Regions from separate parts of the Homo sapiens genome. Here all the other regions are linked to region 2. Evidence: promoter capture Hi-C in 16 types of primary human blood cells and fetal thymus (Javierre and others, 2016). All regions are on one chromosome and are shown on one strand. The core of a region is centred on a gene start or on the middle of the fragment in contact, and the rest is flanking DNA. Distances in the headings are between cores, read along the strand shown.

Evidence for each region. The method cuts DNA at HindIII sites, captures the fragments that hold promoters and counts their contacts. A CHiCAGO score of 5 or more calls a contact.
Region 1: a contact is called between a fragment that was not itself captured here and the fragment with the promoter of MAPK6 in region 2, in 3 of 17 cell types (fetal thymus, total CD8 T cells and erythroblasts). The highest score is 7.2, in fetal thymus.
Region 3: a contact is called between a fragment that was not itself captured here and the fragment with the promoter of MAPK6 in region 2, in 1 of 17 cell types (total CD4 T cells). The highest score is 5.5, in total CD4 T cells.
Region 4: a contact is called between a fragment that was not itself captured here and the fragment with the promoter of MAPK6 in region 2, in 6 of 17 cell types (naive CD8 T cells, naive CD4 T cells, fetal thymus and 3 more). The highest score is 9.1, in naive CD8 T cells.
Region 5: a fragment that was not itself captured here is called in contact with the fragment with the promoter of MAPK6 in region 2 in 1 of 17 cell types (total CD4 T cells); the score reaches 6.8 in total CD4 T cells.

The regions. Positions count from the first base shown.
Region 1 is chr15:52,648,640-52,652,440 of GRCh38, forward strand. The region is part of intron 2 of ATOSA (atos homolog A); the gene reads right to left. Among named protein-coding and RNA genes, the nearest start is that of ATOSA, 29 kb to the right of the region's middle. The HindIII fragment of the contact is 3,083 bases long and covers 107-3,189 here.
Region 2 is chr15:52,016,724-52,020,686 of GRCh38, forward strand. It overlaps MAPK6 (mitogen-activated protein kinase 6), which reads left to right and starts at 2,496. Exons shown (of 6, transcript NM_002748.4): 1 at 2,496-2,653. MAPK6-DT (MAPK6 divergent transcript) reads right to left here and starts at 2,372. Exons shown (of 2, transcript NR_156732.1): 1 at 1,976-2,372. RefSeq lists enhancers at 2,097-2,166, 3,507-3,556 and silencers at 2,337-2,446, 2,747-3,256. The HindIII fragment of the contact is 8,244 bases long and covers 1-3,418 here.
Region 3 is chr15:52,733,990-52,737,657 of GRCh38, forward strand. No RefSeq gene overlaps it. Among named protein-coding and RNA genes, the nearest start is that of ONECUT1, 55 kb to the right of the region's middle. The HindIII fragment of the contact is 3,457 bases long and covers 155-3,611 here.
Region 4 is chr15:52,569,470-52,573,438 of GRCh38, forward strand. No RefSeq gene overlaps it. Among named protein-coding and RNA genes, the nearest start is that of ARPP19, 2.4 kb to the left of the region's middle. RefSeq lists an enhancer at 1-90. The HindIII fragment of the contact is 2,913 bases long and covers 246-3,158 here.
Region 5 is chr15:52,628,879-52,632,459 of GRCh38, forward strand. The region is part of intron 2 of ATOSA (atos homolog A); the gene reads right to left. Among named protein-coding and RNA genes, the nearest start is that of ATOSA, 49 kb to the right of the region's middle. The HindIII fragment of the contact is 4,403 bases long and covers 1-3,581 here.

The sequences.
Region 1 (3,801 bases), core at 398-2,897, 630 kb after region 2:
ACAGAAACCAACATAAATTTTAATGGTAAAAATTTAGCAATGTTAAAGAACAGGAATATACATAACTGATTCACACAGCATCCCTCTCATATGACAGATGACAGGAAGCTTATAGCAAAATCTGAGGCCCATCCATGTATGAGCCTTAGGGGCTGATTACTTTTTATACTCTATCTTGACTACTTCCTCAAATTTATAATTTTACTGTTCCTGGGCTTATTATAAACCTTCTCTTCAAGTCCTATGATGTCCAGAAGTCTTTCAGTGAGTAAAACTGAGGAATCCAGTGAAGAAAGAACAGAAAGATATTTCCAGTTTCTCAATAGTCCTCATGCTGTCACTTTTATAACTGAGCCTCATCACAAAGGATTATATAATAGATTCAAGTAATACTGCAAACAATTACATTTTTAAAACTTAGGTCTTTGAATTTTTGATACTATAACATCTGAAGATTAAGAAAAAAATTTACTATATACTTGCAAAAGCAATACAGTTTATGCAAAAACACTGTCGATATGTGAAAATGCCTGACAAAAAGTTGTCAAGACCAAAGTTTTGGCCCTGCTGACTATGAAAAGCAAATATTTCTTAGATTCAAACTATGAACAAGTAATGAAATTTCCGCAAGGAAGAGTCAAGGAAAAAAATGTGTCATATATCACTTAAGGCATACATATAGAAATCAAACATTTGTGATAATACCTGAAGTAGGAACGACTTAAAAAAAGATTTTCACAGAACACTTAGAGAAAAAGAAAAACTCAGATTGTTACCCCTTCCCAATCTGAGTTTTTAAGTTACATATTTTTTAAAGAACTGTAAACAGCATTATATATTATTGCCTGATTTCAAAATAATCAAAAACAATCTGTTTTACTTAAAACCAACTGTAGCAATCACTGCATCTAGTAAATACTAGCACTTCTATTTGCTATTCCTTATAAAGAGGCAAAAACAAAAAAGAAATCACTGTTTTTGAGAATTAAAGTATTTTTCCATAAGCACAAAACAATAGCCAATTTAAAGATATGACATAGACAAAGACAATAAAAATTATATTGTCAAATAATAGACAAATCCAAAAAACTGAAATATGCTAGCAATGTTATTATAACTGACTAGATTATAAACCTCAACTACCCTGAAGTTCTGCTACTGAATAGGAACTTTCAGATGCTCCAGTATATAAAACATTTTTAGGTGCTAAGCCCAGCAATAATGTCTGGAATTCTGCCAATAATATTCCTCCTGAACACAATGGCAAAGCCTCTGTGTGACACAGCAGTACACTCAACTTTCTTACAATTTCATGTTCCCCCATCTTTTGCAGCATATGAATGAGAAATAGCCTTTCTCTTGGAGGCTCTATTAATTTTTATGAAATAAACCAACATAAAATGGGTAGCAAATCAATTTAAACAAAACTTTGGTTTTTATGGTTCTATAATTAGAAAATAAAATTAGTAATTCATAAGAGTTACAGCTAAAAAATGAAAATTGCTAGATTGACTTTCATGTGGTTAGTCATATTTAACAAACTTGAGTCCTCTCTGCCTGTGTCTGCCTCTCACTCCAAACTCCCTTTCATACCCCTACCCCTTCTACACACAGCTGCTCTTCTTGAAGTGAGTGCTTTATATTGTGGAGGCCACCAAGTCCAAATAATATAACTTTATTTTGCTATAATTTTTATAACTTCTATCAAATTCAAGTTTTTGGCTGCACCTTACAAACTTGAAAATCTAAGAAATGCCAGTCTTTTAAACTTCAGCCACATGTAGGTCTACGTAAAACATTTTTTTAATCTTTAAGGACTATTTTGTAAATTTTCACCAATTATTAGACATCTTTTTAATACAAATGTTATATACATAGTATTGTTACAAAGATCAGCAAAGGGCACAAAAGCATGGGATAATATTTTGAGTTCTCTTTAAAGAAAAGAAATATCTCTCCTTACCAGAAATGCTAACACTGTTAAGACTTTCTAATGACAGGTATTTTTTGAAAAGAACAACAACAAAACCCATCCTATTCCAAACTATATAGTTTGTAGAGATAACAAAGCCCTAATATTAACTCTGAGCTTATACTGACTTTACTCATCAGACATACATCACTGAGTGAACTAAAGGCCACTTAGCCATGTAAAACGAAAAAGCAAAGGAAAAGCCGGTTATTAGCTCAATACGGATCCTTCGTAAAATGGGCAATATGCTAATTAGTCTGCTCTGCTTTAATTAAAAGAACCATTAGCTAAATCACATATGTAAACTTTAATTTCACAGTATTTGAGAAAGATACAAAAAGACCTTTTGTTTATTAAAACACTTTAAAACTTTCCTATAATCTGTTGAACAGACCAATTTTTCCAGATCCTATATAAACAAATGGTAACCTACACTCTGTTCAATTATCACATATATTATATTAGTACAGTTTAATAAGATTTGACTATATTTGAAGTATTAACTAAGTCAGATATGCAATTATTACATTTAGGAGGCCTACTTCAATTTTAAAATACTAGTTTAACCTTGTATGTTGTCTTCAAAATCCCTTATCCTTCAGTTTTCTATATGGATGTTTAATAGAACACTACACTGACTTTGCGGTTGAATTATGATGCTTTATCTGAACTGCACAGAACTAGTCAATGGATTAAATAATTAAGAGATTGCACAATTTGAGGTAGGATTTTCAGAAATGCTTTATAAAAAGATTTTGGCACACCAATTCCTTAAACTATGTCAAAAATCTCACTTAGTTAAATTCTGACAATCTTTGTCAAATTCAGAAACATGAATTCAATTAAAAATATGCAGCTTATTTAAAATACATTTGTCTTAACAGCTTTAATTTAAAAAATACCTCCTGCCCCCACATACAGTTAATGCTTCTGGCTAATGCACATTCTCTTCCCTGTATTCTCATTTCTATCACATTTTTTCCCCATTAAAGTGAGCACATTGTACTTGGTTTCTTTTCTTCCTACTCATTGTTCAGTTCAGCATTTTAATAATCTTTTCAGTACTGCTGTTCAAAGAAAACAGGCTATATGAAGCTAAAGAAAATTCTCTAAGTTCAATGGTTTTCAAAGTGAGATAATTTTCCTAGACCTATTTATTAAAAATCCATGCAAAGCAAGCACCACAGCCAACTGGTAAACAGCTACAGAAAATTGGAAGCTTAAAAATAAAGCCGTTAAAAAACACTTCACTACACACCTTCTCTGTGAAGCCCTTTGTTTCCACTGAAAACCATACTGGAATCCTTGTATAAAGGAAGTTGCCTTCTGGCTATCAATAGCTATACTATCAGTAACTGAGGGATCCAGATGTCTGCAGCGGTTAAAACAAATGTTCAGCGTTGGGTGCTGATCCCGCTTCCCTCCGTGTAAGGTTTTTCACAAAGGCAGCAGAGTAAGAGCGCACATAGCAACAGCACTCACAGCTGATTGGACAGAGGGTGTGCTCAACCTCCCCTGCTCGCTAGGTCCACTACAGCTTCCTGTCTACTTGGCAGCACTGTCATGTTTTCTTTGCTCGTCTTACAAACTCAGCTGTGTTTAGGCAACTTGAAAGGAAAGAACAGTAGACTGATAATGGCAAAGTATTCTAGCGTTTGCCCCTGAAATGTGTTTCTTCAGTTGCTTTTAAAACAGAGAAATTCGTAAGACAAAAATTTATTTCAGTTAGTGATGCACATAAACTGAAGACAAAGAAGGGTTGTGGAAGGAATCAGTTACTTCACATCTAAATTAAATCAGGTTCTACCAAGTGAAACCCTCTGAAAATG
Region 2 (3,963 bases), core at 1,246-3,745:
GGACCCCTCACTGAAAAACCAGTCTTAAACCAGATCCCTGGGCCAGGTGTGGTGGCTCATGCCTGTAATCCCAGCACTTTCGGAGGGCAAGGCTGGTGGATCACCAGGTCAGGAGATCGAGACCATCCTGGTCAACATGGTAAAACCTCGTCTCTACTAAAAATACAAAAATCAGCTGGGTGTGCTGGCGCGCACCTGTAGTCCCAGCTACTCGGGAGGCTGAGGCGGGGGAATCGCTTGAGCAGAGGTTGCAGTGAGCAGAGGTTGCAGTGAGCCAAGATTGCACCACTCTGCACTCCAGCCTGGCGACAGACCGAGGCTCTGTCTCAAAAACAAACAAACAAACAAACAAACAAAAACCAGATCCCCCAAATCTTGTAATTATTCCATCCTTGACCTCCCCTTTGTCTCACGTGTCCGTGTGAAGAGACCACCAAACAGGCTTTGTGTGAAAAACAAGGCTGTTTATTTCACCTGGGTGCAGGCGGGCTGAGTCTGAAAAAGGAGTCAGCAAAGGGTGGTGGATTATCATTAGTTCTTACAGGTTTTGGGATAGGCAGTGGAGTTAAGAGCAATGGTTTGGGGGCAGGGGGTGGATCTCACAAAGTACATTCTCAAGGGTGGGGAGAGTTACAAGGAATCTTCTTAAGGATGGGGGAGATTATAAAGAACCTTCTTAAGGGTGGGGGAGATTACAAAGTACACTGATCAGTTAGGTTGGGGCAGAAATAAATCACAATGATGGAATGTCATCAGTTAAGGCTATTTTCATTTTTTTTGTGGATCTTCAGTTGCTTCAGGTCATCTGGATGTATATGTGCAGGTCACTGGGGATACGATGGCTTAGCTTGGGCTCAGAGGCCTGACACCCTTTTGAAATGCTACAAAGATTCTGTCAATTTAGTGGTCTCCCTTACTATTGTAAGCCAACTTTGCATTATCCACAGGAAGTCAGCAGTGACACTGGATTAAATGCTCCTTGAGGGAAGGCACAGTGCTTGGTATTTATTCTCCCACCTTCTCTGGGTGATCAGACATTGATGGAAAAGGAAGGTAAACGAGTTCTCAAAGAGTGAGAGGAAAAATGTCCTGAGGATCAGAGGAGAGCCTAGAGCAGAGGCAGTGGGGCTGAAGGTACGAGCTCTCGTTGCAGAAGCTGGAAATTCTGCGGTTGGAACAAGTCTCCCCTTTCTCTTGGTTTTTTTCACTCATTACCTCTTCTTCACACCTGGTACTCAGCTGACGTTGTTTTAAATATTAAAAAATATAAAGCATTCAAGCTCACCCCAACCACTTAACTTCATTACTCTGTGATTTTTTTTTTTGAGACAGAGTTTCGCCCTTTCGCCCAGGCTGGAGTGTCCTGGCGCGATCTCGGCTCACTGCAACCCCCCGCGGGGTTCAAGCTATTCTCCTGCCTCAGCCTCCCGAGTAGCTGGGATTACAGGTGTGAGCCACCACACCCGGCTACTTTTTGTATTTTTAGTGGAGACGGGGCTTTCACCATGTTGGCCATGCTGGTCTCGAACTCCTGGCCTCAGGTGATCTGCCCGTCTCGGCCTCCCAAAGTGCTAGGATTACAGGCGTGAACCACCACGCCTGGCCCTTTGTGATCTTTTTGAAGTGGTCTTTGCCTCTTTCTTGAAGATGCCCATAATAATGACTAGAAGGGCTATTCTATGTCTGGTTCTCAGCAAGATGGTGATGAAGTCATTGAAAAAATATGCTGACCTGCGTCTCTAATTTCATAAATACTTAAATTTCACATAAACACTGAAAAGGCTCCTTGGACTCAATAAGCCATGATAAGTAATGTAAGTTTGCTTTTAGCCAAGTGGGCCCAAGAAGGCACCCATCCACCTTTCTACGTTTCATAGTGCATCCCTTCCCAAATTCAAATTGTCCTATCCCAGTTCCTGCAACAAGCCAGGTACTCTGGCCTCCCAGTCTTTGCTCACAGAAACACCCTCCCCACCTCCTGGTTATATCCGCTCCTCCGGGATCCAGCTGAAAGGCCACCTTGGCGACCACTCCTGAAAGCCTTCCTCCATACTCTGGCAGAATGAATGACCTTAGTATTGGCCTCTAACGCGTCTGTCTTGTGCTCGGGCTGTCGCCTTCCAGCCAATCCATCTTAAGGTCCACCCTTCCTGGAGACTGAGGCCTCTTCCTCTCGGATTGCCCAGTGCCTTGCACGTAGTAGGTGCTTAGTAAACGCTGGCACTGGGTTTGGTCACTTTGTTCCCTTAATGCCAGGGCAGGTAGTAGAGCAAACGGCCCCAGCTGTCTTCCTCCCTGCCCGCCCGCAGGCAAAGCCCCCAGGAGACGCCGGACGAGCCGCGTGCCTTTCCCACCGCCTCCGCGGCGCGCGCAGCCCAGTCACGGGCGCTGGAAATTCCGGCGCGTGCGGGTGCGCTGGGCAGGGCGGGGGCGGGAGAACCCGTGGAGTGAGCCTGTGACGTGAGGGGGCGTGGCACCGCGAAGCCCCGCCCCCTCTTCCTCGCCCTCTCTCGCGGGTCGGGGTTACATGGCGGCGACTGCGGCAAAGCGAGAGCCTCGGAGACGCCGCTGCCGCCAGCACAGCCGGAGACCTGAGCCGACACTGGGGGCAGTCCGCGAGCCCCGCACTCTCTCGATGAGTCGGAGAAGTCCCGTGAGTGTGTGTGTGTACGTGTGCGGGGTGCGCCGGCGGGGCGGCTCGGGAGGGCGCCGCGGCGGGCCCGGCGGCGGCGGCGGCGGCGGCGACGGCGGAGCCGGCTCCCTCCTCCATTGTGTGTGACCCTCCGGCGGCTGCCGCTCAACAAAGGCGTTTTTGTTCGGTCTGCCGCCCGCCCCCTGCTCGCCCGCCTGCCCGCCCGCTCGGGCCTGGCCGGCGCGTCCCCGCGCGGGCGGGCGGGCGGCGGGCTGGGGTCCCCGCGTGGGGCCGGCCAGGCGGCCAGCGCGCCCCTCCCACCCGGCACGCCCCTCGCCGGTCGCCCTGCCAGGCCGCGCCCGCTCCCTGGCCCCGCACGCCTGCTGCCGTCCCGCCGCCTGCGCCTGGCTCCGCGGGTTCGAAACCCAGCCGGACCGGACCGGAGGGCGGGCGAGCGAGGGGCGGCGGCCCGGGGAACATGAGGTGGCGTGGAGTCTCGCCTTACTGGCACGCTGCCTTTCGAAATGCTCCCGCGTCTCCTCCCCCATCCCACCCGGTGACTCGGCCTCAGCTGACTCCGGCCGGGCAAAGTCTCCAGTGGCGTAGCGCGCAGCGCTCACCCGGCTCGTCTCAGAGCCCTGAAGTCCGCCCAAGTTTTGAGTCTTGCCATGAATGAGGTACTGAAAACTCGGAGACGAAATTCCTAATTTCCTCCCTCGGCCCTACAGTCTTTCCTTAGCTTCTTTCGGGACCTTAAGTGGTGGTCTGTAAAAGTGCCCAAATGAAAGCTTGTTTTGTCGGTTCACCAAAAAGGGCCTTGTCACTTTGCTGTGCATTTTAGTCCGCCTTGTGAGTTGTGTCGAAAAGTAAAGGTGTTTTGGCATCCTTTTGTTTCTTGGCGAGTGTAGGACCCAACCGGTTTAGGTGTTAGGGGGATCTCTGTGCAGCGGGAGCTTCTTGATTCCTTTCCTGTTTTATTTTTTCTTTTGCTTGTTCATTGGAAAAGGTCCAGTGAAAGGGACTGGTGAGTTGGAATTAGAAGCCTACTTGTATTAACGGCAGAATTCGTGTTCATTGCTAAAGATGCAGTCTCAGTAATGACTTTTTTTTTTTTAACGGATACAGATGATTTGTCAAGGGGAAAAATTAACACGCCATACAATGAAGAGCAAGCAGCTTCAGAGTAATTTTCTGATGGCTGATTCTTCTAGCCTGTCTCTTACAGTTCCAATTGCACATGTCCTCCCTCTTTAACGCTGGAAAACTGAGATGGAAAGAATGATCTGACCAGAAGAATGTAGGGTCCAAACAGGGCCTGGCCCTGAAATCAG
Region 3 (3,668 bases), core at 633-3,132, 720 kb after region 2:
TAGCACTGGGGAGCTCTCTGAGCAGGCACCACCATGCCCATCTGTCCATTAGCAGTAGGCTATGGATTAGGAGTGGTAGAAAGGATATCTTTAAATAGATTTCTTTGTTTGTTTGTTTGGTTTGAGGCCTAGTGATTGAGGTCACTCTGGGAAAAGCTTCAGGAAGCTCTGGTCAGAAACTTTGGGTTTTACATTTCACAACAATTATCCTTCCACTGGGGAAAAGAAAAGGTTAGTTAGGTGGGGTAGAGAAATGAGGACCAGAAGTTCCCCGCCTAGGAAAATCAGAATATGAAACATTATTGAAATACATATTAATATTTCATATGTCTTAGTCATGGCTGGGAGGGTTCAGCCTAATTGGCAAACTCAGCTTTATCAGGGAATCCTTGGTATCTGCTGCTGAAATGCAACTCAGATCCTTGTCACCTTTGAGCCTGTCCTTCACAGATAAAAGACATGAGTTTGGAATGGGTTTCTGCACTGTGGAAGGGGGAATAGACTTACTCAACGTCTTGGCTTTAAGTCCTAGCTCTGGTACTTGTTAATCTTGGTATTTTAAATAAGTCTCTTGGCAGGCACGGTGGCTTATGCTTGTAATCCAGCACTTTAGGAGGCCAAGGTGGGAGATCCCTTGAGCCTGGGAGTTGGAGACTAGCCTGGGCAACTTAGTGAGACCATTTCTACAAAAAACTTTAAAATCAGTTGGGCGTGGTGGTGCACACCTGTAGTCCCAGCTAACTCGAGAGGATAGCTTGAGTCCAGAAGGTCAAGGTTGCAGTGAGCTATGATCACACCACTGCACTCCAGCCTGGGTGACCAAACAAACAAACAAACAGAAAAAAACAACAAAAACAAGTTTCTTGACCTCCCCGGGGCTCAGCAACTAACAGATAACTGAGATAACTGTGGTCAGGTATAGGCTCGGGCAACTGCACATGGTGAGCAGATTTTGGGTTTGTGAGAGAAGACAGAAGAGAATTGAGTGGAGCTCCTCCCAGGCCCGCAACAAAAAATTATAAATTTGGAGGCTGGGCATGGTGGCACACACCTGTATTCCTAGCTACCTGGGAGGCTTAGGCAGGAGGATTGCTTGTGCTCAGTAGTTTGAGGTTGCAGAGAGCTGTGATCACACCACTGCATTCCAGCCTGGGTGACAGAGCAAGATCGTCTCCAAATACATACATAGATATGTACACAAATACATAATTTGGCTATAGTTTTATTTTTAAAATATGTTTTAAATGATGGAACTTCCTATACTAGCATATAATTTATAATTTCTTTGTAATTCATTTTTTTGAAAGTGTGAAACATTTGCAAGTCACCCTTTATTCTTCTTTCACCAGTGTGGTATTAATCACCCAGTGATTACCCAGAAGTAATGCTTAGGGCTCCTTCCTGATGCCCCAGGCTAGGGGAAAGCGTAGGGGATAGGGTGGGGATGGGGTAGGGGCAGGTAATTTTGCCTCCAAGCCTTACATCACTGTTTACAAGTTCATTCCTCCCTGCCTCATCATGTAAATCCCCATAAAAATGGCATCTCCCTATAGTGACTGTCCATCAAATAATGACTTTGTCACCTTCTGCTCCTGTGTTCTGGATATCTCATTGTTTTACCTCCCTCTCTTTATGCTCCCTTTTCCCCTGGGTTTTGCTGATGGTAAACTGGTCAAGTGCTGCCACCTACTGGCCAAAATGTATATTACTAAAGAGCTGTGGTCTGGAAAAGGTTAAGGCCCAAGGTGCCTGTGTTACAAATGACTGGATTGCGGCTTTTCACATAATTTTGTTAGCAACCTATCAGCAAAGAAAGAGTTCACAACTGTGCTTTCAGGGAAAAACGAATTTTGACATAGTTGTTTAATGAGTGTTAAAACTTTTTATGTTGAAATAGTTTTAGATTTACAGAAAAGTTGTACAAATGGTACAAGAAGTTCTGCTTGGCCTTTACTCAGGGTTCCCTAATATTAACATTCCTAAGAGTAACTGCAGGACAATAATTGAAACCAGGAAATGGACATTTGTACAATACCGTTAATTACTCCACAGATATAATTTGAAGTTTGCCAGCTTTCTCACTAATGCTCTTTTTCTTGTCCAGGATCCAATGATTCATTATCTTCTATTATATTTATTTGTCTTGTCTCCTGGACTCCTCTAATCTGTGATAGCTCCTCCATCTTTCTTGACCTTCACACTTTATTTTTTTTATTTTTTATTTTTATTTTTGAGACAGGGTCACCCAGGCTGGAGTGCAGTGGCGCGACCATCAGGGCTCACTGCAGCCTCGACCTCCTGGGGTCAGGAACTCCTCCCACCTCAGCCTCGTGAGTAGCTGGGACCACAGGTGCGTGCCACCACACCTAGTGATATGGTTTGGTTCTGTGTCCCCACCCAAATCTCATCTCAAATTGTAATCCCCATAATCCCCAAGTGTTGAGAGAGGGACCGGGTGGGAGGTGATTGGATCACGGGGATGGTTTCCCCCATGCTGTTCTCGGGATAGTGAGTGAGTTCTTACAAGATCTGATGGTTTTATAAGGCAGTTTTCCCTTGCTGGCTCTCCCCTGCCTGCCACCATGTAAGATGTGTTTGCTTCCCGTTCTGCCATGATTGTAAGTTTCCTGAGGCCTCCCTAGCATTGGGGAACTGTGAGTCAATTAAACCTCCTTTGTTTATAAATTACTCAGTCTCGGGTACTATCTTTACAGCAGTGTGAGAATGGACTAACACACCTGGCTAATATATATATATATATATATATATATATATACATATATATATTACATATAAAACCCTGTCCCCACTATATATAGTATATATAGTGTGTATATATATATAGTATATACATAGTGTATATATATACAATATATATAAAACCCTATCCCCACTACATATATAGGTTTTTTTTTTTTATGTTGCCCAGGCTGGTTTTGAACTCCTGGGTTCAAGCCATCTGCCTGTCTCGGCCTCCCAAAGTGCTGGGATTACAGGATTACAGGTGTGAGCCACTGCACCCGACGACCTTCACATTTTTGAAGAGTAATGGTCAATTATCTTGTAAAATGTCCCTCAGTTTGTCCGCTATTTTCTCATGATTAGGTTGAGGTAATCTGTCTTTGTCGAGAATACTGCCATGTTCTTAGTGCATCATATGAGGGGATGCATGATGTTGATACGTCTTATTTATTAGTAGTGATGCTAACTTTCATCTCTTGGTTAAGAAGGGGGGAACTGTCAAGTTCCTCCTGGTTAAATTGCTATTTTTCCTTCACAATTAATAAGTATTGCAGGAAAATGCTTTGAGATTATGCAAATATCCTATATCTTACCATACTTTACCTATTGACTTTAGAATTTCTAGATGGTTCTTGCCTGCAGCAATTATTAATGCGGTATTCGTTTGCATAGTTGTGATTACCTATTTTCATCTTTTCATCTCTCCTACATTTTAAAATAGGAATTCTACTATAAGGAAGAACTGTCCCTTTCCCCCATTTATGTATCTATTCAATTATATAATTAGCTCAGTATGGACTCATGCATATTTTATTCTGTGGACTATAATCCAGTACTATCATTATTTATTTTGTTGTTCAAATTATCCAAGCTTAGGCTTTGGGAGCTCTTTCAAGCTAGCTTCTGTGCCCTTTGACATGCCCCAT
Region 4 (3,969 bases), core at 452-2,951, 550 kb after region 2:
TCTACACTAGGCCAGAGCCACCTCTTAAAGGCTGTCACAGCCCTGTACAGTTCCTCAACAACATGAACTGTATCATTACACAATTGTCGTGACTTTAGGTCACCTTTCCTTCTCAGATAAGCCGCACCAGGGCAGGGATCTCGTCTGTAATTACTTATATTTTACTCTGAGGGTCCAGCACTTCCTAGATATCTAACGAAGGAATTCAGATTCATTTGTCCACTCCCAGGGGGTCCACTCCCACAAGCTTACCGAAACTGCTAGCATTGAGCTCCCCCAATGACCTTTTTATTTGCCAAGTCCTGCGGCTTCTTACTGAATCCTCATTCTACTTGATATCTGAATAGTTACTCGCAATGTTTGTTGGTTCCAACAAAGTGTCCCTCAGAAACTTGGAAATAAGATTGCCCTCTAAAAGTTAAACTAGTAAAAAGCCACAGAAAATGAATGCATTTCTGGGGGCAGGGGAACAATTGAAAGACCCTAAATGCCTGGATAAGGAATTTGGAAACCATCGAAACTCAACCAGGATGTAGAATCTCAGACAGGAAGAATTGCACTGGAATTGCAACTAGAAAAACAAAAAGAGTTAATATTGCACTCCTTTTGGAGAAACGAAGGAAGGCATTTGTCAGCCAAGGAAGTATTGAAAATAAAAGGGTTCAACAGGCCAACTGTTTGACAAAGATATCCCTTAAGAATGTCTCACGCTGGGCTAGCTGAGAAACTGTAAGATCCACGACATATTTGTTCTCCTTCTATACTCACAAAGTAACATACTGAAAATTTGCCTTTCCCTTAAGCAGAACTGCAGAGAGAAAGAAGAGTGCAGTAGTTAGGCCACTGAAGCATTTAACAGTTGTATTTTTATTAATAAATTGACTGACGTTCTAGTATATGTCCTATATCAATGTATTTGTGAACTTGAGTTAAAATCTGATAGACATACACTTAATGATGAAACTCAGCCTCAAGAAAATTGGCTGTGGCTGGGCACAGTGGCTCACTCGTAATCCCAGCACTTTGGGAGGCCAAGGCGGGCAAATCGCTCGAGCTCAGGAGTTCAAGACCAGCCTGGCCAACATGGCAAATCTCTGTCTCTACAAAAAGAAAAAAAACTTTTTTTTCTTTTTCTTTTTGAGACAGAGTCTCAACTCTGTCACCCAGGCTGGAGTGCAATGGCACAATCTCGGCTCACTGCAACCTCCACTTCCTGGGTTCAAGCAATTCTCCTGCCTCTGCCTCCCAAGTAGCTGGGATTACAGTTGCCCACCACCACACCCTGATAATTTTTTGTATTTTTAGTAGAGACAGGGTTTTGCCGTGTTGTCCAGGCTGGTCTCGAACTCCCGGCCTCAAGTGATCCACCCGCCTCGGCCTCCCAAAGTGCTGGGATTATAGGAGCGAGCCACCACATCTGGCCTTTTTTTTAAAATTGGCTATGTGACCTTGGATAAAAAGAATCTGTTTCTGATAGTGACACTCGCAGAAGGGGAAGTTTGAATTTCTGGGGGCAGACTTTGGTCAAATGGAGAATTCACCATGGGCAATGCTCCACAATGAGGACCTGTCTGGAAAGCCATTCTTTCCCAACTAACACCACTCTGCATCATTATGAACCTTAATGTGTAAAACTGCACACTGGTCCCCAGCACCCTGTTTGTCAAAACTTCCTTCTCTTGATCTCCAGGATACTATTGTCTCATGGATTTCCTCCTACTTAACCTCCCTGTTGAATCTTAACCTGCCTCTTAATGGGAGGATTCTAACAGTTCTGTCCTTGGATCTCCTTCTCTTCTATGTTTACACAGCCTCCAGGAAATAACTTCCACCTTCATAGTTTTTTTTCTTTTTTGAAACAAAGTGTCACTCTGCCACCCAGGCTGGGGTGCAGTGGCACCATCTCAGCTCACTGCAATCTGCCTTCTAGGTTCAAGTGATTCTCCTGCCTCAGCTTCCCAAGTAGCTGGGACCACAGGCACATGCCACCATGCCCGGCTAATTTTTGTATTTTTAATAATTGTAGGCCTGGCACGGTGGCTCACACCTGTAATCCCAGCACTTTGGGAGGCCGAGGCGGGTGGATCACTTGAGGTCAGGAGTTCGAGACCAGCCTGGCCAACGTGGTAAAACCATCTCTACTAAAAATACAAAAATCAGCTGGGCATGGTGGTGGGCACCTGTAATCCCAGCTACTTGGGAGGCTGAGGCAGGAGAATTGCTCAAACCTAGGAGATGGAGGTTGTAGTGAGCTGAGATCATATCACTGCACTCCAGCCTGGGCAACAAGAGCAAAACTGTTTCAAATAATAATAATAATAATTTGTAAAGACGGGGTGTTGCTATGTTGGCCAGGCTGGTCTCAAACTCCTGGCCTCAAGTGCTCGGCCTGCCTCGGCCTCCCAAAGTGCTAGGATTACAGACTTGAGCCACTGCGCCCGGTGGACATTCATAGTCTAAACTGCCATCTAGGGATACCTTGTTTTTTGGGGCTTCATTTTATTGTACTTCTAGATACTGCATTTTTCACAAATTGAAGGTTTGTGGCAATCCTGCATCCAGCCTCTATAGGCGCCATTTCTCCAACACCATGTGCTTACTTTGTGATCGTGTGTAACATTTGGGTAATTCTTGCAATATTTCAAACGTTTTCATTATTATTATATCTATTATAGTGATCTGTAATCAGTTATCTTTGACATTACTATTGTAATTTTGGGGGAGTACCACAAACCACTCCCACATAAGACAGTGAACTTAACCAATAAATGTGTATGCTCTGACTGCTGTACCAACCAGCATTCCCCTGTCTCTCTCTCCTTGGGCTTCCCTATACCCTGAGACACAACGATATTGAAATTAGGCCAAATTATAACCCTACAATGGCCTCTAAGTGTTCAAGTGAAAGGAAGAGTTGCATATCTCTTCCTTTAAATCAAAAGCTAGAAATGGCCAGGTGCGGTGGCTCATGCCTGTAATCCCAGCATTTTGAGAGGCTGGGGCTGGTGGATTGCTTGAGCCCAGGAGTTTGAAACCAGCCTTGGCAATATGGTAAACTTCGTCTCTACCAAAAATACAAAAATTAGCCAGTCTCATAACCCGGTCTCTAAATAAACAAATAAATAGATTAAACATTTTTAAAAAGCTGGAAATGATTAAGCTTCGTGAGGAAGGCATGTCAAAAGCTGAGACAGCCAAAAACTAGGCCTTTTGTGACGAAGAGTTAGCCAAGTTATGAATGCAAAGGAAAGTTATTGAAGGAAATTAAAAGTGCTACTCCTGTGAACACATGAATGATATGAAAACGAGACAGTCTTATCGCTGATATGGTCCAAGTTTTAGTGATCTGTATAGGAGAGCAAACCAGCCACAACACTCCTTTAAGCCAAAGCCTAATCCAGAACAAGGGCTTAGCTGTCTTCAATTCTGTGAAGTCTCAGAGAGGTGAGGAAGCTAAAGAAGAAAAGTTTGAAGCTAGCAGAGGTGAGTTCATGAAGTTTAAAGAAAGAAGCCATCTTCATAACATAAAAGTATAAGGCAAAGTAGAAAGTGCTGATGGAGAAGCTGCAGCAAGTTATCCAGAAGATCTAGCTAAGCTAATTGACTAAGGGGGCTACAATGAGCAACAGATTTTCAATGTGGACAAAACGACCTTCTGTTGGAAAATGTCATCCAGGAGTTTCATACTAGAGGAAGTCAATGCCCGGCTTCGAAGCTTCAAAAGACAGGCTGACTCTCTTCTTAGGGGCTATTGTGGCTGGTGTCTTTAAGCTGAAGCCAATGCTCATTTACTATTCTGAAAATCCTAGGGTTCTAAATCTGCTCTACCTGTACTCTGCAAATGGAACTACAAAGCCTGGATGACAGCACATCTGTTTACAACATGGTTTAGTTAATATTTTAAGCTCACTATTGAGACCTACTGCTCAGAAAAAAAAAATCCTTTCAAAATATTGTAGCTCATTGACA
Region 5 (3,581 bases), core at 775-3,274, 610 kb after region 2:
TTTTTCACTCAATTGTTAACAAATATATTTTCTAGACCACAAAAATCTGAAGCTAAGGAAGGTAAATCTTCTCCTTTATACAATCCTGAAGGGCCATTCTCTTCCCAGAAGACTAAAATTAGCTGTCATAACAAACATCTTGCCCTCGCCAATTCAAATTCTTAATTACAGAAAGCCTTCAATCTATAAGTGTCCATATTCCCTTCCTGGCTGCTTAATAATCCAAACATAGTCATTTTTTGTGGAGTTAAGAGTTTTTTTGGATTGCTTTTAACTAAAGGTTTTTTAAAAAATTCAATATCACGTTAGAGGTCATATAAAGACGTTTTAAGAGCAGTTTTAAGTTTACAGCAAAACTGAGTGGCAAGTAGAGATTATACCCCCTCCCCAATACCTGTGTGGCCTCCTCGATTATGAACAACCTCAAAAGAGTGGTATATTTGTTACACTTGATGAACCTACACTGACACATCATAATCACTCAAAGTCCATAGTTTATCTTGGGGTTCACTCAGGATGTCATACATTTTCTGGGTTTGGAAAAATGTTAATGACATGTATCCACCATGAGAGTATCATACGGAATCCTTTCATGCCCTAAAAATCCTCAGTGGAGGTAAGGGTAGTTAAAAAAAAAAAAAAAGGCCAGGCATCGTGGCTCATGCCTGTAATCCCAGCACTTTGGCAGGCTGAGGAGGGCACATCATGAGCTCAGGAGTTCGAGACTAGCCTGGCCAACATGGTGAAATCCTGTCTCTACTAAAAATACAAAAATTATCTGGGCCTGATGGCGGGCACCTGTAATCTCTGCTACTCGAGAGGCTGAGGCAGCAGAATCGCTTGAACCCGGGAGGCAGAGGTTGCAGTGAGCTGAGATTGTGCCACTGCACTCCAGCCTGGGCAACAGAGCAAGACTCCATCTAAAAAAAATTAAAAAATAAAAAAAAAGAAAAGACTAGAAGGATAAGTAATTAAGAATTGAAATCAAAATGAAGACAGAATTGGGGAAGCAGCAGGGAGAAACAAAACAAATGAAGTAGAAACAATATACAGCAGGAAAATAAGACAAAAAACAAAAAATATTTGTATACAATAGAGTAAAATTAGAGCTAGAGGAAGTTCAACAGGTTAGGGCAGGACGTTGGTGGTGGTGGGGTACCTAAGGAAAGTCATTACTGTACTTTTGTTTCCTGTGTGTTCTGAACAAGTTCTTTTCCCAGACTCCCATCTTTCAAACATCCCAAAGTAGGCCTCCCTGTATTCCTCACATGTGTTCTACTAGCACTCCTATAAATATAGCTTAAAAGTAGCCCCAAATTTCTAAAAACTAATGTTCTACAACTTTGTTTCCCAAGTTGGTTGTTGAAAGTTCAGAGTTACTTGTCTTTATTAAACCACAGGCATTACGAAGGTTCCTATGGACTAAGGAAGATGAAGTGCTACACCAAAGGCACCACAGAGACTGAGAAGACATGCCAAAAACAAAGAAAATATTTGCAATGCAAATGCTGACAAAAGATGAATATCTAGAATATTTCACCTAAGAATCCTGAAAGGTTAATGAATATAAGATGTAGAACTCCTTAATCATTGCAAAATACAAATTAAAACTACAATTACATATGATTTCACATTCAAAGGATTGTGCAGGAAAATTGACTAAATATTGCTAAAGGTATAGAGCAACAGAAGTGGTCATACACTGCTAGTAAAGGTACACACTGGTGCAAACACTTTCAAAAATAACCTGGCATTACCTAGTTAAGAAGTACATACTCTACAACTCAATTACTCTCCTAGGTAAATAACCTAGAGAAAATCTTGTACATGTATGCTAGGAGACTAATATAAGAATGTTCAAAGAAGCACTGTCTATAACAACAAAATTTTGGAAAAAACAAGTGTTTATCGTCCATAGAATGAATGCTGTGATACACTCATATAATGGGATACAGGAGTAAACGTAAGTACAAGAATAATAACCTACAGCTACATACAGGTTGTAGAACACTATAGGATGATTCTATTTGCATAAAAGTTTAAAAAACAAGCTAAACAACATAGTTTATGGTTATATATGTGATAAAATATTTTAAAAGAGACAACACAGAATTCAGAACAGTGGATATTTTGGGGATGTACCTGAGGAGAGGAACACAGGAGTCAGCACACAAGGTTCTGCTTCTCAAGCTGAGTAGCAACTGCATGGGAGGTCATTTTGCTGTTCTCTAAACCATCTTTAATGTATATGCTCTTTGTAGCTATGATATGCTTCATAATTTTAAAAAATTCACATTGTCTCATGTATGACAAAATAAACCTGTTTTTAAAATTTCAGCATGTATGTGGAAAACTGAAGTCTGGGAATTCTGCACATCTCACTCTTGCCTAGGTCTCACTGTTTGTAAGGTGGTACTAGTTAGTGAAAAATAAGCACTGTGCTGGATTTCATGAGGTCCACATTCTCCCATATTAACCTCTTTTGTTCTAGGTTACTTTAACTATCAAAGTACACCACTTCTTAAAAAAAGTCTTCCAACTTTAAGATTTTATGAGTTGATGAAAATATTAAGGTGAAGAATTATGGTATAAAGGGAAAAAAGACAATATTCAACTTACAATATTGTTCAACTTTCCAAAGGATACAGAGCTGATAAATCCAAGTAATAGGACAAACACCTACGCCTATGTGTTATGGCAAATTAGTTTGCCATATATATATAATTTCTAGAATGCATTTTACATTTTTTAATGTAAGAAACAAGTTTTAAAGCAAGCAACATATCTCGAATTTAACACTCAAACTGAAAGCTACTGACGAAAAGTTAGATTTCCTCGTTGGCTGGACAAATAACTAAAGTGTTCTAAAACACAATGCTAACCCAAGAAATTGCATGGTTCAAAGTGTGTTTTGAAATTGAATAGGCAGTCCCATTGTAACCTCAAACTCCTGGACTCAAGTGATCCTTCTACCTCAGGCTCCCAAGTAGCTAGGACTACAGGAATGCGCCATCATGCCCAGCTATTTTTTTAAACTTTTCTGTAGAGACAGGAGCCTTGCTATGTTACCCAAGTTGGTCTCAAACTCCTGGCCTCAAGCGATCCTCCAGCTTCAGCCTCCCAAAGTGCTGGGATTACAGGTGTAGGCTGACAGTGCTGGGATTACATTGCACCTGACCAGACAGTATTTCTTAAATAAGTTTTCCTTCATTATAGGAAGGTAGCTGTATACCCATTAACTAAAAACATCTTAAAGTGGAAAAGACTAATTTCATCTGAATTTTAGTTCATGATACTGTTCAAAAGTTACAGTGCCTCAATTTAGTGAACATAAAATATTGACTACAACTTAAGCAAGTAGTTCTCTTAATCCTTATTTCTCTAGTAAGAGATGATCTATTGCTTGAGAACCATGTTGCTTATAATAATTTCTTCTGTTGGTTTAAATAAATAATACCATAAAAGTTAATTTTATTAAGGGTTAAATAAGATTCCAAAATTATAACTAATTTTAAACCTGAAATACTGAAATCTGATACTTTTCTATGGAACTGTGATGGTGAAACAGTGTAGCATAATTA